5 separate regions of the Homo sapiens genome follow, and regions 2, 3, 4 and 5 are each linked to region 1. The links are contacts of gene promoters, found by promoter capture Hi-C in human tissues and cell types (Jung and others, 2019). All regions are on one chromosome and are shown on one strand. The core of a region is centred on a gene start or on the middle of the fragment in contact, and the rest is flanking DNA. Distances in the headings are between cores, read along the strand shown.

What was found. The method cuts DNA at HindIII sites, captures the fragments that hold promoters and counts their contacts. A contact is called where the count stands out against the background at its distance.
Region 2: a fragment that was not itself captured here is called in contact with the fragment with the promoter of PARVA in region 1 in 1 of the 25 tissues and cell types used here (dorsolateral prefrontal cortex).
Region 3: a contact is called between a fragment that was not itself captured here and the fragment with the promoter of PARVA in region 1, in 2 of the 25 tissues and cell types used here (dorsolateral prefrontal cortex and mesenchymal stem cells).
Region 4: a fragment that was not itself captured here is called in contact with the fragment with the promoter of PARVA in region 1 in 1 of the 25 tissues and cell types used here (dorsolateral prefrontal cortex).
Region 5: a fragment that was not itself captured here is called in contact with the fragment with the promoter of PARVA in region 1 in 1 of the 25 tissues and cell types used here (liver).

What each region holds. Positions count from the first base shown.
Region 1 is chr11:12,376,108-12,379,802 of GRCh38, forward strand. It overlaps PARVA (parvin alpha), which reads left to right and starts at 1,464. Exons shown (of 13, transcript NM_018222.5): 1 at 1,464-1,676. The coding sequence starts at 1,541. The HindIII fragment of the contact is 6,514 bases long and covers 1-3,695 here.
Region 2 is chr11:12,781,261-12,785,202 of GRCh38, forward strand. The region is part of intron 3 of TEAD1 (TEA domain transcription factor 1); the gene reads left to right. Among named protein-coding and RNA genes, the nearest start is that of TEAD1, 110 kb to the left of the region's middle. The HindIII fragment of the contact is 4,708 bases long and covers 1-3,942 here.
Region 3 is chr11:12,839,586-12,843,665 of GRCh38, forward strand. All of the region lies in intron 3 of TEAD1 (TEA domain transcription factor 1), which reads left to right. Among named protein-coding and RNA genes, the nearest start is that of TEAD1-AS1, 81 kb to the right of the region's middle. The HindIII fragment of the contact is 3,640 bases long and covers 57-3,696 here.
Region 4 is chr11:12,868,206-12,872,072 of GRCh38, forward strand. All of the region lies in intron 5 of TEAD1 (TEA domain transcription factor 1), which reads left to right. Among named protein-coding and RNA genes, the nearest start is that of TEAD1-AS1, 53 kb to the right of the region's middle. The HindIII fragment of the contact is 7,003 bases long and covers 1-3,867 here.
Region 5 is chr11:12,700,561-12,704,233 of GRCh38, forward strand. The region is part of intron 2 of TEAD1 (TEA domain transcription factor 1); the gene reads left to right. Among named protein-coding and RNA genes, the nearest start is that of TEAD1, 28 kb to the left of the region's middle. The HindIII fragment of the contact is 3,590 bases long and covers 361-3,673 here.

The DNA.
Region 1 (3,695 bases), core at 214-2,713:
TTTTTTTTTTTTTAAAAAAGGTAAAATTAAGACTCTTAAGATAAAATGAACCTATACGGTGTTGAGAATCTGTTGACTATCTTTTTGTTAAATTTTAGTTCTACTCAGAAACTGTTGCTTGTCACTTTATTTAGTTTAAGGAACTGTGGATGGGTTAATAAAAGGCTGAGTAACATCTCCTGGGAAGAAGCACAGCTGGCCCTGGCAGGAAGTGCAAGTGGGGTCTGGGAAAAGATTCAAGGTCCAAGCAGCTACTCCCCACGGTTTCCATTACTCAGACCACGTGGCTTCTTGAGCACACTTCTTTGCTCCATTCTTTGGTTTCCCTACTCCTCAGCATGCACGTGGCTAGAAACAGCCACCCTAGTTTTGATTGCGAATGATCATCAGTCACGAGCACAACTTCTGACAACAGTCTCTCCAGCTTAGTGCAGTCTTAACTGGGGCCAGCTGATCGTCTGCTCTTCAGTAAAGCAGTAGCGCCCTTTGGATTAGGTGTTCACCCAGGTTCAATCAGCTGTGGCCTAGAAGGGGCCACAAGGAGGAAACACAGTTGCCAAGGTGCTGTGAGTCTGTGTGTGAGAGACAGACAGAAGGACAAAGAGCCAGAGTGAGAACTTGAGATGGGTAAGCTCAATAACACGTGCCTTTTAATCATTTCCAGTATGAGTCCTTCAAACACTGTGCTTTGTATGACTCCCCTGTTATCTCAAATGAGTCTGGTTGTCACTCTCTTGCTTTTATTTAGGCAGGATAAATTTTGCGGGAAGTCCTGTAGGAGCTCATGGTTGTGCTTTTCCCATTCATGTTTCCACCACCACGTGGGATCTTCCTTTGTATAAGCTGCTGGAAACACGGATGTCTTACAAGAATAAGAAGCCTCGGCTTTACCCTTGTGCACTCCAAGCTTCTCAGTCTTGGATGGGAGTAGAGACGAGGAGGTTGACGGTCATGGATAGGTTCAGGAGTGATTGGTTCTGCCCACTTTGGTGGGGCCTGGACACATTTTGGTTCACTGCAATAATTTCTTCCAGGAGCTGCAGTCTTGTGGGCGCAAGACGTGGGCCTGATAACCCCACAGGCAGTAGTGCTGGGGCAGAGCGAGCTCACCAGCCGCCGGCTGGAAGACCCCGGGAGAGTAGCAGGGTTGGGTTGGTTCTCAGATGTGTTTTGCGCCAGGCTGTGTGGTGGGGACAGAGCCTGGGTAAATGAAGCTTTCCGGCTCGACCGCTCCCAACCTGGGCACACACGTCCTCCTGTCCTGCAAGGGGCAGTTTTGGGGCATCCTCCCTGCTTGGGGCAACCCAGGGGCGCAAGGCGCGGCCCCGGGAGCGCAGCTCCTTCCAGGGCAGAGGGCGGCGCGAGGGAGGGAGCGAGGGAGGGAGCGAGGGAAGGGAAAGGCGAGCGTGAGCTGCCTCAAATGCTTGGAATAATTCCGCTTCCGTTTGGAAAGCCGCAGCCTCAGTCCCGCCGCCGCCCGCTGCGTCCGCCCAGCGCCAGCTCCGCGTCCCGACCGGCCCGCGGCAGCCTGCGCCGCGCCATGGCCACCTCCCCGCAGAAGTCGCCTTCTGTCCCCAAGTCTCCCACTCCCAAGTCGCCCCCGTCCCGCAAGAAAGATGATTCCTTCTTGGGGAAACTCGGAGGGACCCTGGCCCGGAGGAAGAAAGCCAAGGAGGGTGAGTGCGGCCAGGCCGGCCGGGCGGGCGGTAGGAGCCGGGGGTGCCGTAGGGGCCGAGGGGCCGGGGCACTGGGACCGGGCGGGAGCGCGCCGCGGGTGCCCGGCGCGGTGGGGCGCGCGGCGATGCGTGCGCGCGCTTCCCGGGTACGTCGGGCAGGAGCGACGCGCACCCCACACTGAGCCCGGGGCTCGCGGGCCATCGAGGCCACCCCGCCCGCTCGCGGTCGCCCGGGCGCTGCCCTCCTGGGCCGGGGACCAGGCCAACGCCCCCGCCGGGCCGTGGGCGGGCGCCGCTTGGCGGCCGGAGGCGGCGGGACCGGAGCCCAGGCGGGGCCCCAGCCCGCAGACAGTGCGATCCAGTAGGCCCTGCCCCGCCCTCTGCGCCCGAAGGCTGGCATTTCCCAAGTTTCCGCTGCAGCTTTCCTGGGCGCCGTCGCTCTTACTCGTTGCCTTCATTGGTCCTTAAAATCAGGTCGTTTCCTGGACCTGCTGACGTCCTCTGGCAGCGGCGTCGTGGCTTTGGCCTCTTCGGGATCTTTTGTCCATCCCGAGGGCTGAGAAGGGCTCTGTTAATGGAGTAGGTGGACATCGAGTGTTTGTTGAATGAATGAGCGAAAAACTGGCAAACCTAGCGTGCCCTCGGTGTAATACACAATAAACTCCCACCAAAGGAGAAAACCTGCGTGAGACACAAACTTCGTCATGGGCCTGCTGTGAACTCAGGCATTCAGGGCTTTCGTAAAAACCTTTGTTTTTTCCCCACCAGAGTGAATTGAGGCGACCTTATTCTTTTTTTTTTTTTTTTTTTTCAGGGTAGTTTGCATGTAAAATATTTTTTTTTCCCATGCACAGATTTTGCGTCCTGGTTTTTGGTTTGAAAACGAGGTGGCAGTTCTCAAGAAGCACTGTGGTGACTGGTGTGTAGATAGAAGTTGCTGAGTTAAACATTTTTGTTTTAAACATTTTTTAGTTGATGCATGATGTACATAGTTCTGGGGCACATGTGATAATGTAATACATTCATATAATTTGTAAAGATCAAATTGCACAGGAAAGGGGTCCCAGTCCAGACCCCAAGAGAGGGTTCTTGGATCTCACGCAAGAAAGAATTCAGGGTGAGTCCACACAGTAAAGTGAAAGCAAGTTTATTAAGAAAGTAGAGGAATAAAAGAATGGCCACTCCATAGACAGAGCAGCCTGGGGCTGCTGGTTGCCCATTTTTATGGTTATTTCTTGATGGTATGCTAAACAAGGGGTGGATTATTCATGTCTCCTCTTTTTAGACCATATAGGGTAACTTCCGGACGTTGCCGTGGCATGTGTAAACTGTCCTGGCGCTGCTGGGAGTGTATCAGTGAGGACGACCAGAGGTCACTCTTGTCGCCATTTTGGTTTTGGTGGGTTTTAGCCGACTTCTTTACTGCGACCTGTTTTATCAGCAAGGTCTTTATGACCTGTATCTTGTGCCCACATCCTATCTCATCCTGTAAGTTAGAATGCCTTAACCTTCTGGGAATGCAGCCCAGTAGGTCTCACTCAGCCTTGTTTTACCTGGCCCCATTCAAGATGGAGTTGCTCTGGTTCACATGCCTCGGACAAAATCACTGTACTTGGGATATCCATCACGTTAAAGATTTGTCTTTTCTCTATGCTAGACCACTGGAATTCTAGATATTTTGAAATATACAAGAGGTTATTGTAAAATATAGTTAGTTTACCAATCTAACACTAGGTCTTCTTATATCAAATGGTATATTTGTAACCATTAATCAACTTCTCTTCCCCCCTAAAAAATGTTTTTAATAGATTGCTCCATGAATTAGAAATAACCTTTTGAAAGCTGTGATGCTGTGTGAAATTTTCATGTTTGTAAGTCATCTTAAAGTATAAAAACATCTTCAGCGCTGAGGATTATCAGACTTGATGAAGAACTAGACTTCTATTCCCTAGATTGAAACGAGAAGCAGCAAAAACATACAAAAGTTTCCCCACATTGGTTATTTTGGTAACCCATCGA
Region 2 (3,942 bases), core at 1,069-3,568, 410 kb after region 1:
TTGGATTAGGCAAAGCCTTAGATGTGACAACAAAAGTATAAGTGGTAAAGTAAAAATAGAGAAAATTCATGAAAATTAAAAAACTTTCCTGCTTCAAAGGATATCATCAAGAAAATGAAAAGGCAATCCAGAGAACAGGAGAAGATATTTTCAAATCATAAATCTAGTAAGCAACTTGTATCTAGAATATATAAAGGACTTTTGCCATTAATAAAAAGATAACTATCCAGTTAAAGAATGGACAGAGGATCTGACTGGACCTTTCCTTAAAAAAGACATACGTTGAAAAACACACCAAAGATGCTCAAAACCATTAGCTAGCAGGGAAATGCAAATTAAAACTACACTGCGATATCACTTTATATCTCTTAGGATGGCTATCATTAAAAAAAAAAAAACAGACAATAACAAGTGTTAGGGAGGATGTAGAGAAATGGGAACCCTCACAGGTCACTGGTGGGTTTATAAAGATGGCATAACCACTCTGGAAACAGTCTGGAAGTTCTTTAAAAGACTCACCATAGAGTTATTATAGGACCCAAAAGAAATGAAAACAGATGTCCATACAAACACTTGTACATTAGGGGTAGGTGTGTTGGCTCCCAGCACTTTGAGAGGCCTAGGTGGGCAGATCGTGTGAGTCTAGGAGTTAGAATCCAGCCTGGGCAACATGGTGAAACCTCGTCTGTACAAAAAAAAAAAAAAAAAAAAGAAAGAAAAAAAGAAAAAGAAAAAAAAAATTAGCCAAGCGTGGTAGTGCACACCTGTAGCCCCTGCTACTCAGCTGGCTGAGGTGGGAGGATCACCTGAGCCTGGGAGGTGGAGGTTGCAGTGAGCAGAGATCTCCCCACGGCACTCCAGCCTGTCTCAAAAAACAAAACAAACTTGTACATGGATATTTATAGCAGCATTATTTCTAATAATCAGAAAGTGGAAACAACCCAAATGTTTATCAGCTGATGACTGCGTAAATAAAATGTGGTAATAGCTATACAATGGAATATTATTTGGCAATAAAAAGGAATGAAGTCTTAATATGTACCACAATATGGATGACACTTGAAAACTGTGCTAAATGAAAAGAAGATTCATGAAAGACCACATATTGTACGATTCCATTTATACATGGAATCATATGAATCATACGAAATGCCCGGAATAGGTCAGTCTACAGAAGCAGGAAGCAGATTAGTGGTTACCTGAGACTGGAGGATTTGAGAGAAAATAGGGAGTAACTGCAAATGGGTATGGAGTTCTTTCTGGGGTGATTAAGATGTTCTAAAACTAGTTACGGTAATGCTTACACAACTCTGTGAATGTAGTAAAAACTTGAATTGTACACTTAAAATGGGTGAGCTGTATGAAATATGAATTATATCACAATAAAGGTAGTATCAGTGTATATGCTCAGCATCATGCTTGGCCTTGATAAATTGGTAAATGTTAGCTACCAATGTAATAGTAACTCTCTGACTTCATGTGCAGAGCACGTTTATAGTAGCAAAGATGGAAAGAAAGGAAAATGCTGAGAGAGTAGATGAACATACAAGTTAACTCAGATACCAGGTGAGGGAGAAGGTGACTGAATCTGTGGCAGCCGTATGGTAGGAGCTGAGTGCTGCTTTTGGAGAAGGTGAATGAAGTTATGTGGTGCAAGAGCCTGATACCCTAAAAGTGTCTAGTAAACCTGAATGTAGTTACCCTTAAAATGTGGTTGAACTTGGGTCTGGGGATCCAGATGTCACTAAACAGTATCTTCTTCACAAAAGAGTAATCACCGTCAGTGTGATAAAAGCCAGAGTTTTTGTGTCTAGAAGTCACTAAACCAGGTAAGGGTTTGTGTGTGTGTGTGTGTGTGTGTGTGTGTGTGTGTGCGCGCACTTTCTTTTTAAATCACTGTATGACAAAGGCCAGAGTTTTAGTTTTTGTGCCTTTTTTTTTTTTTTTTTTTTAAGGCAGTGTCTGGGGGAACTTATCTTCCCACAGTCAGCCCATGGCTGACCAGCTTTGATTTTTGCAGGGTGTCTTTGGGCCTGAATGTTTGAGCCTCCCTACAGGAGATGGCTAGAGCCTAGCCCTCATGCTCTGGAAGTTAGTTCTGGTAAAAGCTTTGCAGTTGGCGCTGTGGATGCCCTGTGCTACTTAACAGTGGTTCCTCCTTTAGAACTTGGAAGACACGTGCCAATAGGGAGGAAGGTTCTCTGCTAAGATGCATTTATTTGTGAACACCTCTCACAGTGTTTTTTTCAAGGATATACCTGTGGAGGGAATTTCCCATTTCAGTTTTGGGGGAAACCTGGTGAGTTGCTTCTCAGATGTTTAGGTCACACACTGACACTCAAGGTCGAATGGCTACTGCGTGGTGGAGCTGTGATTCCAAGAAACCTTCCATGTCTGATTGCTAAGACAGCTCACAGTCTTAACCACTAGGCTGAATTTTCCCTCAGGGATGGACAAAGTGGAAGAGAGAGAAAGCTGAAGGCAGAGAGATGTGAAAATACAGTGTTTTCAGGAGTAGTAAGGAGGCTGGTAAGCATGTGGGATGTCTAGAAGGGTGGATGGAGTGTGGGGTGGCTTGTAAGCTGAGAGGTTACGGGAGTGAAGTGCCAGGCAAGGATGTTCGAACAGTAAGATTAGAGGTTCTCAACTTTTCTGTGTATGCAGCATATACACAGGAAGGGGGGATGGGAGCCCTTGTTTTTAGGATATTCAACAAGTGTTTGAGGAGAATTATTCTGGAGGCTCTATCTCCCATAAGGAGGCTGACACTACAACACTTCTGGTAGGAGATGAGGAGGGCTTGAACTAGGTCAGAGGTTATGGGAGTGACAAGGAGGGGATGGATGGGAAGGACATTTTACATCAGTATATTAGAGATTAGGCATTTAGATTAGGTGTATTAGAGATGAGAGGGCTCTGTAGGGTTTTCTGATGAGGGAGAAGATGAAGATTTTTCATCTGCATGGATGGCAGTGCCATTTATAGACACAGTTGTACAGCAGGGGAGACAAGTTGTAAGGGCCAGAGTTGGGGTAATGAGTTTTGAGTTGTATGGAGTTTGCAGTGCTTTGGGGCACTTCATGGGGAGGGCGCCAGCAGGCACTGGGCAATTCAGCATTCTGGATTTGAGAACAGTTTGGAAAACATCATCACAGGGTTTGGAGTTGAGACCCTGGAAGTGGATAAGCTTGTCTAGGAGACAGAGGGAAAGGACAGAAAGGAAGAAAGGCTAGGATAGAATCCATTGGAAGCATTAAGAGTCATTGTCTTGAGTAAGCATCTTCCATGTCATATGAAACCTTACAGATGCAGGAGCAGGGGAGTCTGAATTCACGTATGTTTACTAAGTGTGCTGAAGTATTTGTCTCCTGGTGGTGTGTTGATGGAAGCAGATGATTTTCTTGCAAGTTCCAGGGGTGCTGATGTCTTGGCATGTTCCTTTCTGTGGCCCCCTAGGGTGAGTTAATGGGTCAGCCCAGGATCCTAGTTCCTCCTTCCCTTTCCTTAAGTCAAAGCTGGCCTACGCTCCATGTGTGATCTCCTTCTTCCCAGCCTCCCTGGGAGTGTTGCTGAGCTCCGTTTGGAGTTTCAGTTGCAAGGCTTTAGCCACCCATGTTAACTGTAGCTCCTATCGCTTGAGAAGTGCAGGGTGAGGGGATCCTGGAGAATCAGCTCCCTTTTGAAATCTGCTCCAGCTTGCTCTCTTGGGGTCAGCATGAGTGTGGAGAAGACTGGAGAAAACCCAGAGATGGTAGGCATGACCTGCCAGATGCAGCAAGCCCTGCCCTCTCTCTGTGTCAGATCAAAGACTGACTCTTCAGTCATTTGACACCCTAATGTGAGGATGTTTCTGAGCCAGGGCCCGGGCTCCTGGTGGCCTGTGCCTGGGAGCCGTGGGGAACGTGTGGGCCTGCATGTGCTCTGGGTAAGTGGGGGTAGGAG
Region 3 (4,080 bases), core at 627-3,126, 460 kb after region 1:
AGCTCCTGCCGTGTAGTAGTACTTTAGGGAGTAGTAGAGATGTTGGTTGGGAAAGAAGTGATGCCAGAATGTGGCGGGGGTTATCAGAGCAGGTTCAGAACGTAAGGAGCACGACCAGGGAATCACTAACTTCGCGTAATGGAAGGGTTTGTTTCAGTTGGATATTAAAAGATGAATAGAAATTTGCAGGCAGCAACAAGAGTTGGCATTCTAGGTGTAGTAGGGGACTATATGATAGAAAGCCCACATTGAAGGTAATGTGGTAAGACTCATTAATCTAAGAAAGATCCTTCTGGTTGTAGCCTTAAGGAAGGGTGAGAGTGGGAACAGATGGAAAGTAAGGAAAACAGTTCGGAGGCAGCTTTAAGAGACCAGAAACGGGCCTGGCGCGGTGGTTCACGCCTGTAATCCAAGCACTTTGGGAGGCCGAGGCGGGTGAATCATGAGGTCAGGAGATCAAGACCATCCTGGCTAACATGGTGAAATCCCGTCTCTACTAAAAATACAAAAAATTAGCCAGGTGTGGTGGCGGGCGCCTGTAGTCCCAGCTACTTGGGAGGCTGAGGCAGAAGAATGGCGTGAACCCGGGAGGCGGAGCTTGCAGTGAGCCTGGATCGCGCCACTGCACTCCAGCCTGGGCGACAGAGCGAGACTCTGCCTCAAAAAAAAAAAAAAAAGAAAAAAAAAAGACCAGAAACGAAATCGGGCCAAGGCAAGAAGGGTGGAAGGTGGATGAGTCTGAGAGATGGATGTTTTCACTATGGAATGGTTGTGTAAGGATGGGGAGTCAGAAGAAGCCATGAGAAGCTTGTGAGAGTTAAGAGGCCATATTCAGTGTTGTGCTGGTAAATATAACCTCCTATAATTAAATTGTAAAGAGGTCAGTCCAAATTCATGTACTGGGGTTGATCGTTTCTGCGTAATAGTCTTTCACTTAACTTTTACTCATTTTCACTTTCACGAAATAAATGGCCGTGTCTTAGCCTGGGGGCCTAGGTCTGGGGTTCGGCTGTGTGCTCTTCCTGCAGTTTGGAAGTGCCGTCTATGTTAATAGATATTCCCAACTCTGCAGATCTTCTCTCGAGGCTGAAGGGGCCCCATTCCTATCAGAAGCCTCTCATTTTTCTCTGAGGTAGAAAAACTAAGGCATAGACTTCATAGGGAAGTTTATATGCAAATGGTGGCTTTCTGCACGGGCCCCTGTGAGTGGAGTGGGATGAGATACCCAGTGGCTTTCAGAGTTCTGGTGGATATTTGATTGCTCTCCATTGGTAGTAACTTTATTGCTTTTATAGGGAGAGTTGTACTGGAAATTTGCCCTCCCTGTCCTTCAGCTGGTTTGTTCCCAAGCCAGACCTGTCTGAAAATTGAAATGGAATACTTTTTCTCATCTCAAGTTATCAGTTGTAGCTGTCAGGAATTTGTTACTGTCTGCTAAAGCCTTTTAACATGAAAATACGCTAAGGGCAGTGCATGTGTGAGTCATGTGGGAAGTTACATTATTTTATGGATGCAGAGAGGGACACAGACCCAGATTTATTCATAGGTGAAAGGGGAAAAGGAACAGAATTTAAAAGGGAAATCCTGAAAAATATGTAGCCTCTGTGGCTCTGCCTCTTTTCCTACCTGCGTCTCTTATACACCATGGATAGAATGTAAGCTCAGTGGGTACAGAAGAGCTGTCTTTTTTCCCTCCTTTGGTCTTCTTAGCTGTCCCCACCAGGCCATGCCTATAATCGGTGCTTAGCAAGCTACTGGCTTAAGAGAGTCTCTGTCTGCTGTGAGTGCAGCTCCTGAGATGGTGGGGATGGATGCTGGTTAGGAAGTGTGTTCGCTGCCTTAGCATAAAGAATAAGTACAGTTTTTCTCGATTATTTTTCTCCAAGGGAAACTCAATGGGGAATGTCGGTTTCATGCTGTTCTTGGAGGGGTTGGTTTAGAATTCTCTCTGGCTTTTCTGAGAATCCCTCCACATTCCCCCTCCAGGCTGCTGTCATGGTAGCTGCCCTTCTTTCAGCTACTTGCATTTTTTGGGAGATATGCCATCTTCCTTCAGTTTGCACCCTGGTAGCTTAGCTCCTTCAGTGTTTAGAGGGAAATGGGAGATGGAGAATCGAAGCACACTAGTGCTTTCTGGTGTTCTCTGCATGTGTTTGGAAGGAATGTAAAAGTAGCTAGGGCTTATCGTGGTATCATAGCATTATAGGGTATGAGACCTTTGGGGAAACTGAGGCTCACAAAGGCTGATAACTTTACCTAGAGTCAGTGACTGCTAATGGCAGACTCCTAGCGTCTGTACTTTTCCACACTTACCCGTTCATATGAAATAGTCTGGGAAGGTCTCTTTTAAAATGTATCGTGACCTCTCCTATAAACCTCAAGGTTACATATGTTAAAGAAATGTAGTCGGCTTTCCTCATGTGCCGAATTCTGAATCAAGCTTACCCAAACCCCCAAATCATTTCCACAGAGCAGAGGAAAAAAACAAAACAAAACAAAACAAAACAGGCAAATGTGAATCATGGGAACCTATTATAATGATATATAGCTTGTCATAACACATTATAATATTACAGCAAATGTATTTAACTCACTGAACGTTCTCAGGGGGCTCTTAGCTCCCTTTAAAAGTGTTCTCCAAATCTCTGCAGCAAGATGGAGCTGCCTAGTCCACCTCACTTTTGACCAAACCACCGTTACGAGAATACCTATTGAAAACCCTTACACTGTTGCTGTTTCCCTGGGCTTAAAAGTATGTTTGGTTTTGTCAGTACCTGGAAACAGGAAGTTGAGATTTGAGGAGAAATCTTTGGCAGTTGTGCACTAAGCTTGCGGGAGTTAGGAGTCTGTTGCCACGGAAACCACACTGCTGCCTCATTTATTAATGGAGGCTTGGTGAACTTCCGGAGATACTCTTAGCCTGTCCTGTAAATTCATTCTAGAGAAATGCAGGGTGACTTTTAAGAGATTTCTCTGTCGTTTCTCAAGCATTCTCTCCTGGGTCTTCATGAGCTCCAGAAAATTGCTTGTATGCAGGTTCAGAACCACTGATTTTTATCTGGCAAGCATGTCTGAAGGCCGTTTCCTTTTTTTCATGCTTAAATCGTGTTTATGCCTGCCTGCCTTGTCCAATAAGTGAATTTTTTTTTATTATGCTGCCTTTAAGAATTACATGGATTTCAAATGAAGGAAGAAGGAATACAAAAATGAACTAAGTAAATATATTGAAAACCTTCTGACACTAACTTTAAGAGAGTTATAAGCATCAAAGCCTTTTCTAACTTTTAAAATTCTAAACTTAAAAAATCTAAAATGAATGGTTTATTTCTTCTAATTCCAGTGAGATACTTTAAGAACATTTGTCTGAGACATTTTCAAATTTTGTTCTAATTTCACTAAACTAACTCTATTCTGCTAGGCAGAGTAACAGCATTGGAAGTTGCTTCCAGGAAAAAAAAAATTTTTTTTCTAGCTAATTGTTTATCTGGGAGGATGCAAATGGTGGTTTTAAGTCCTTTAAGTCATCCATCATGCCTGGCAGCCTCTATTGTCTCATTGTTGGATTTGAGCCAAGTCAGGCCCTTTCTTGGTCTTGGGAGGGTGCACATAGATCTTGCTCTGCCAAATCTGTGTTCACAAGGAGTCCGAGCCCAGCTCTAAGGGTAGGTAATGTTGTCAGATCTATAGATCCCCTCAGATTGGAAAAGATCATGCATCCTCGTTCCTTATGTCACACTAAAGTAGAAAGTAGCACTCTATTCAAAGTAGAAGTGACAGGACTTGTTCCCTCAGTTCTTCCAGTGTCTACGAATTACTGTTAGTTTTTAAACGCATTTTTGTGGATGTAATAAAATACTGTTTATAGTCAGCTACGAAGTAAGTAATTACAATGCGGGAAATGAAATTCAATATAGCTTTGTTGTGGTTTTTTGAATTTTAATTAAACCAGTCTTAGAGTAAATTATAAATGCTGCTGCTTTTGTTGTGACAAGTGACATTGACAAAATATTAATCTAATGGATTGTTATTCACAAAAGCTAAATCTTTTCAAATCTGCAGGGTTTGGTTGTTTATTTTGTT
Region 4 (3,867 bases), core at 605-3,104, 490 kb after region 1:
TGTTTTCCAGCCTTTTTAAAGTAGCAAAACTCATGTTTTGAATTGAAGCTTACTCCCTCAAATCCTTAGTAATGGCCTCTTAGGCTATTCCATTGAATCAGGTTTGAAAAGCCCCCTGTTTTAGGCAGAAGGAAAAGGAGGTGTCTACCTCTTATGCTGTCCCTTCCAGCCTTTACAGAGAGCTCCTGTGTCCCATTTAAAGCCCATGTTTTTAAATTCTGTAGTTTTGAAGTTCTGCCATGTTCCTAGGAAGAAAACAGACTCCAGGAGAGAGTGGTCATTTGATGTCACATTGATAGATGAGTCATCCTAGCTACAAAAGTTACTCTCCTGAAAATCCGTTAGAATAAATTCTAAAGGTCAGCTTTATGCTTCTACTAATTGGCAGTTGTTCTCAATGTGCTTGTTTGTGGACTAGATCACCCCCAAATTGTGTAGACTTAAATTTTAGTAAAGAAAAAAATTGTTCTAGTGAAAGTCTAAGATTTCTACGTAGATTTGAACTTGAAAAGCATAGGAATGATTACTGAATTCAGTCCAGTGGTTTTCATTGAGAACCTAAGTGTGTTCTAGGTCCTTTTGTAGACGTTGGGCACATAGAATTGAATCCAGAGTTTCTGTTCTTGAGGAACATTGAACTTTTCTGTTATTTTTCCAGTAGATATCCACAGCTAGGGGGCTCTGCAGTAGAAATTAAACAGGATAGTGCAGAGGCTGCCCAAGTGAAAAGAATGATTCATTCTGGGAGTGAGGGAATTAAAGCTTCATGGAGAAGTGTCATTAGAACTAAACATAGTTGAAGGCAGAGAATTTCCATAAAGTTGGGACTATCTGGGGGACCATGAAGAGCATCATGTAATTGGGGACATGCGGTGGGAGGTAAGACTGGAGGAGCCTAAGGGAAGGGCCCTCGATTATCCCACTGAGGAGAAGGGATTCATCTGTGGGCCTAGGGGCATACATGGGGTTCATTCAAATTTACCCTCTGGAAAGACCTCGCCAGCCAGGTTTTGCAGGATAGCTAATAAGAGGGAGGCCAAGCTGGAGTCAGGGAGGCTAATTCCTGGGCTGCTTTAAGAGTGGGGAAGAGAGTCACAGGCTGGGACCAGGGGCCAACCCACACCCCCTGGGGCTGCTCCGTGGCACTTAGCACTCATCCTTGGCTGGCTCCCTGCTTTGGTGCTCTCTGCCTGCTCTGTAGTCTTTCCTACTCATTGTGTTTAAAGAATAAATTATAAGTTCTGTCCTTATGAAGTCTGAAAAGTGTTGTGTGCCAGAACTTTTCAGAAAGATTTTCAATAGCAGCATTTAAAAATCAACTTATTAAAATTGGGTTCTCTTAAAGTAATGGTAATTGACTAGGAGTGTGCATCAAAATTATGAAGTTTTTGTTGCAAAATTTAAACAGTACAGAAAATATATTAAACACTCATGTTTATACTATCTGGAATTGATCATTTTCATTATATAAGTTTTTTTTAATGAAAAATCAAGTGGCAAACATTATTCTGTACTTTTTCCTCTACCCACCCTCCGTCTTCAACCAAAATTAATCTTCCTTTCTTTCCTACCACCCACAATGTATTTTCTTGCCACTTACTTCCCTTAGAAAATCAAATCCAGTGAAAGCTCTCTCTTCTCATTTTGCTCCTAGATTTTTGCCCATTGTCTTTTTCTTTTTCTTTTTTTTTTGAGACAGAGTCTTGCTTTGTCGCCCGGGCGGGAGTGCAGTGGCGCCATCTCGGCTCATTGCAACCTCCGCCTCCCGGGTTCAAGCGATTCTCCTGCCTCAGCCTCCCAAGTAGCTGGGATTACAGGCGCTCATCACGACACTCAGCTAATTTTTGTATTTTTAATAGAGACGGGGTTTCACCATGTTGGCCAGGCTGGTCTCGAACTCCTGACCTCAAGTGATGCGCCTGCCTCAGCCTCCCAAAGTGCTGGGATTACAGACATGAGCCACTGCGCCCAGCCGATTTTTGCCCAATTATCTACCATGAATTTGTGCAATAGCCATTGGCACCAACATGAGACTTTTCCTCTGGAATTTTTAGCAGCTTAAGATAGACTCGGCCAACAATTTGGTGACCTTGGATACAGACCCTGACTGCAGAGGAGAGATACGAGGTTCAGGACATATAGGGGATGGTTGAACTAGAAAGGGAATAATGCGAGGAGACAGTGAACCAGGAGCAGAGAAGCTGGGAGAGTAGAGACAAAGCGTCAGTAGACTGAAGCTGAGATTCAAGAGCTCGGTAAGATGGAAAAAAGAAAAAAAAAAAGGCATTTGTGGCCAGAGCACAGTGATTTTGGAAATTAAATTTATACATTCAGAGTTGTGGGGATTTTCTCCCCCGCCCCCCCCGGGGTTGGGGCATTTTCAAAATATCTAGGACAAGGCTGGGCACGGTGGCTCACGCCTGTAATCCTAGCACTTCGGGAGGCCGAGATGGGCAGATTGCCTGAGCTCAGGAGTTAGAGACCAGCCTGGGCAACACGGTGAAACCCCGTCTCTACTAAAATACAAAAAATTAGCCAGGTATGGCAGTGTGCACCGGCAGTTATAGCTACTTGGGAGGCTGGGGCAGGAGGGTTGCTTGAACTTGGGAGGTGGAGGTTGCAGTGAGCCGAGATTGTACTGCTGTACCCCAGCCTGGGCAACAGAGCGAGACTCTGTCTCCAAAAAAAAGAAAAAGAAAAAATGTCTAGGACAGAAGCTAGAGTACAAACTGCAGGCCTAGAAGAGAGCTTAGCTTTGAAGGAGTTGTTTCTTAGTGATGGGAGTGCTATGTGTTTGTCTCCTACTCAGACAAAACCCTTTTGACCCACTGCTCTCAAGGGGGTAGGTTTTATAGATGACCCACAGCCTGTAGCTGGGCCTGAGTCTACTTCTAAAGTAGAAGATGAATCCATGCAGTTGCAGTGTGAAAGAGGCTTCTAGGCCTATGGAATATCCATTTAAAAATCCTGAGGATGCTGAGTTAGAGGTCTCCCTTGGACCTTGTGTCACCAGCTGCAGCGACAGCAGTGTCACCAACACCAGCTTTACCTGTTGTCTTCCATCTCACCCTTTCCCTTAGTTTAGCCCCTATTGGCGTCTCCAGTGGAGTAGTGAGAAGCAGCAGCATGTCTGAGGATTAGCTCACAGCCTTAGAAATTATTCTCTACTTCGAATTGTTTCACTTACCATTAATTCATGAAAAAGTCATTAACTGTTTTTTTAAGCTCCAGGGATTTATTATCCCAGCATGTAGAAAGAATGCAGAAGCATTCTCCATGTGTTAAGCAGTCTTTTTCCTACTCAGAGTTTCTTTGTAGAGTTCCATGCAGGAGTCTCTTTGCCTGTATGTTCAGTTGCCCTAAGAAGTTGTTCAGACCCTGCTCAGAGTCCTTCTTTCCCCATTAGCAGCAAAAAGGCAGTCCTTTCTTGCTGTTTTCAGAAGCTCACGGTAGCCACAGCCAAGGTCTGGGAAGCACCACCACACTGTGGGCCATCTCCATCTTCCCATGAAGATGGGCCAAGCCACCTCTGGTTCACTTCTCGAGTGTGTTTAGGTGAGTGTATGACTCGGGACAAAACTAAGAGGAAAGGAAGTCTTCGCCGTGCCCTCCGCTCGGCAGGAATACATCTTAGGCAGTAGATGTATTCACGTCAGGCTCTGGATGTGTATTGAAGAAAAACCTGTACTTGCTGACATTGCATCATCCCAGTAGAGCAGAAAGAGACCTGAGCCCCTCTGATTATGTCCAGTCGCCGGTGACTAATTTATGAGCTACATGTGCTCCCCCGGGGCCATTTTCTTGTTCTCGCCCTGGTGGCCTTTATGATTTGATTTCTGAACAGGCCATTCTTTCCAAACTGCTGTT
Region 5 (3,673 bases), core at 906-3,405, 330 kb after region 1:
TTCTGCTACCCTTTTAAAAGCCACATTGATCTTAGAAACTTTTTTTTCTATGATAGGAGGATTTCTAGAAATTATGCTTCTTAACTCTCATTTATTTTCCCTCACCGTGGTATGAGAAGTGTGGGATATTTGAATGGAGTTGGTCAGTTATTTATAATACTGTTGCTTTTGCTTCCTAATTTATTTCAGTTTTATATTTGGTGTAAAATGAAACTCCCCTAATATTTGAGGCCTTTAATGCATCTGGTGCCAAGTGACTTGATTTTGTAGATTATAAGTAGTTCAGTCGACTGCTTCTTCAATAAAAATTGTTTTGAGAACGATCACAGTCGCTCCACTGCAGATTTTGTGGTCCTCCCCTTAGCTCGCTGTGATGGTCGGTGAGAGAGATTATTTTGGGAAAGACAAAGCACAGAGTCTCCTCTGCTCTAGCACAGTCATGCTTTAGAGTTTAGATTTTGAGCAAAGCCATAGCAGACCCCCTCTGGGACCCCTTTGAATTTTGTGTTTGATTCTTCATGTGTACAGTGTACAATATTTGGAGAGTGTTTGTAAGACCGTTGTGTTTTCTTTAATAAAACTGCATTTATCCTTGTGTGGACAGATTGTGTTCTTAGAGTCTAATTTCTTAGAGAACACTGGGAACTGTTTACTTAGATTTTTTTTTTCTTTCTTTAAATAAAGGCTTCCTCTGGTTATCAGCTTTAAAACTATTGAAAGTCAGCCAAAAAAGTTGGTTGAAGGGAAAAGGCACTATTCTGGAGTGTCTTAAATTTTAGTCACTATATGTTGGGGGTGATTAGGGCTTTTACTTTTCCAGAACCTGTAGCAAACAACAAAACAAAAACTTAGACGTCAAGCCTAAATTTTGCCTTTCTTTTGATCTTGGAAATTGGAGTTTTGGAAAACCAAGCAGGGTAGGCTTAATTAAAGGAGATGCTGTTATCTTGAAGTCTTACCTGAGTGAAGGGGAAAGTTGAGTAATCGGAAGGGTCATGCCGGTGGGTTTTCACTGTCTTTAGTTTCCAAAAGATGCTATGAAATTTCAGTTCATTGTTTGCGAGTGTCTGTGTTGGGTGGTGGGGATTCAGAGAAGAAAAACTGCAGGCTAGTGGGAAAAGGGAGTTGTGTTAAGGGGACCATTCCAGTCTAAAATGGTGAGTGATGTACGGGAGGTGTGGGGCTCACCAGATAAGAGACTTTAAGAGACTTAGAGCTGGGAGTCCTGAGTTCCTTTTGAAGCTAAAATAAATAAAAATTATATAGGGAATAGAAGCTGCTGGTCATTATGATCTCCTGGACTACACTGGGCATAAAAAAGATGACTTTCTATAAGAAATTCTATCCAAAGAGTGGCAGGATTATGCAGGAAATGTCATTTGGTTATAGCCGAAGGCAAACTGATGCAGAGCTGCCTGCCACAGCACTCGCAGGCTGCTTGTCTCATCCCCAGCCCTCTCTGGCTGGCTCCAGGGCCCTTTGATCTGCTCACAGACTGTGTAAATGGAGAGCTGAAGGAGATAGAGCCAACTGATGTTACTTTTCTGTGTACTCCCTTTATCCATGGTGTGCCCAGAAATGGTCAGTTTCCCTCTCAGCACTCAGGGGCCGCCCCTTGAACCAGATCCTCTCTGCATTCAACCCTTGGTGCCATGGCAGGCTCAGGTGTCAGTGGTCCTAGGCTGGTATCAGGCCACAGCGGTGCAGGGTAAGAATGTTGGAAATTGACCCTGCGTGTTACTATCTGAGAACATCGTGGACAACGTTAAGTGGAGTTTGTCTCTCTGGCTCACTGTCCAGACCAGTCCCTCGACACCACTCCCTCTTTATAGCTTCATGACTTCCATCTGTAGAATGCTTTATGTCTTAAATGTACCGTAGCCAAGTTCATGGTCTTATTTGAGCCTCAGGACAATGCCGAGAGTAGAAGGATAAGAATCGTTAGCCCCATTTTAGAGATAGAAGAATTGAGGCTCAGAGAAATGCACCTGGGTGTGCATTTCTGTCTTCACTGAGTGCTTTTGTGGCTGAGCGGCTCCTCCAGCAGCACTGCCTTTCTTCAGGCTGCAGGCTTCCGTGAAACATTTCCCTTTCCCTTCCATGTTCTCCCAAATCAGTTACTTCCTTCCCATTCCCTGGAAGCTACTTCCGTCCTTCTCTCGCCCGGATTACTCTGGCAGCCTCTCAGGTAATCTTCCAATGCCATTGTGTCTCAGCAGGTTAATTAATTTGCTGCATCATCATCACCATCATTATCCGATAATGCACTTACATAGCCATTCTTGTGAACTGGCACTGTTCTTATTGCTTTGTGATTCATTTAATTTTCACAATAATTCTGTGAAGGAGGTAGTAATATCAGCCTCATTTAATGAGGAACTGGAGGCACAGAGAAGTTAAGTACCTTGTCCAAAACTGCACAGTTCTTAGGAGCCACAGCTGGGATTCAAGCCCAGGCCTGCCGGCTCCAGGTTACTTGTTCTGAGCCACTACATCTTATCCTGGGGCTCCCATTCTCAAAGCCTCCTCCCTACCTGCTTCATCACCCAACCAATGAGCGCATTCCCCTTAGCCTGGTGCTTGAGACCTCCCACAGTGTGGTCTCAGTATCAGTGGAGCATAGCATCCCACAGATGGAATCTTTGTCACTTCCTAAATGTGCTGCCCTACTCATAACATTCTCTCTCCCAAAAAAGCTTCCCTTAGCAGAGGATGGGGGCTTTGGTTTTTGGCTCTGCCACTGACAATACATGTAACATAGGATGAGTCAATCCACCTCCCCTAGCTGGACTCCCCTGCTCGGTACGTGGAGATATTATCATAACACTGGTTGGTTGTGAGATATGAGTGACACATAGCAAGTGCTCAGAAATGGGGATGACCTTTTCCATTTGTTTTGCCTGCCCAAGCCTCCCTATATTTTCTTAAAGCACCTCCTTTAGGAAGTTGTCTTGGAGTTCCTCCCTCCTTTACCTGGAGGGATCTTTGCTTTCTTTAGCCCATAAGTGTCTTACAGCCACTTTCACCATCATCCTTCGTTGTTGTTCTTCTTCCTCCTAAACTCTGAGCCCTTGCGGGATACAGGCTGTGACTTGCACATCTTTATATTCTCAGTGCTTTGTTTATAATAGACCCTCAGGATATATCCATTGGAATGAGTGAATTTGGGGCCACTGGAATTCAGTTATTGCATCCCTTGGAAAGCTTGGTGAGTGGTGCCCAGCATGAATTGACCTGCAGGAGCAGCCATCTATTGCCTGTGCTCTTGAGTTCTGCTTTTTATTAAAATTCTTCCCTGCTATAGTTGGAGATCCCCCTCACCTCTTTTTATAAAACACAGGCTCATGGGGTAGTGTAAATTTGCACAACCATTTTCTAAGCAAATTGGCTAAAACCCTAAATTCCCTAGAAGCAGAATGGCCCTGGATGTGCTTTTAAAAAACAGCATGGATTTTAGAACATGGAAAAAGTTATGTTAGAAGAACTAGACTCCTACCAAGTCAGAGATACATATATTTATTTCTTTTTATGGTTATGTTTATTTTCTTTTTATGGCTGAGTTGGCGTTGTGTTTGGTTTGTGTTGGGAGCTCCCCTCCATATACCTAGGCTAGAGGAAGATGACGAATGTATTAGACAAGCCTTCTGCCAAGCACAGGAAGAATGCATCTTAG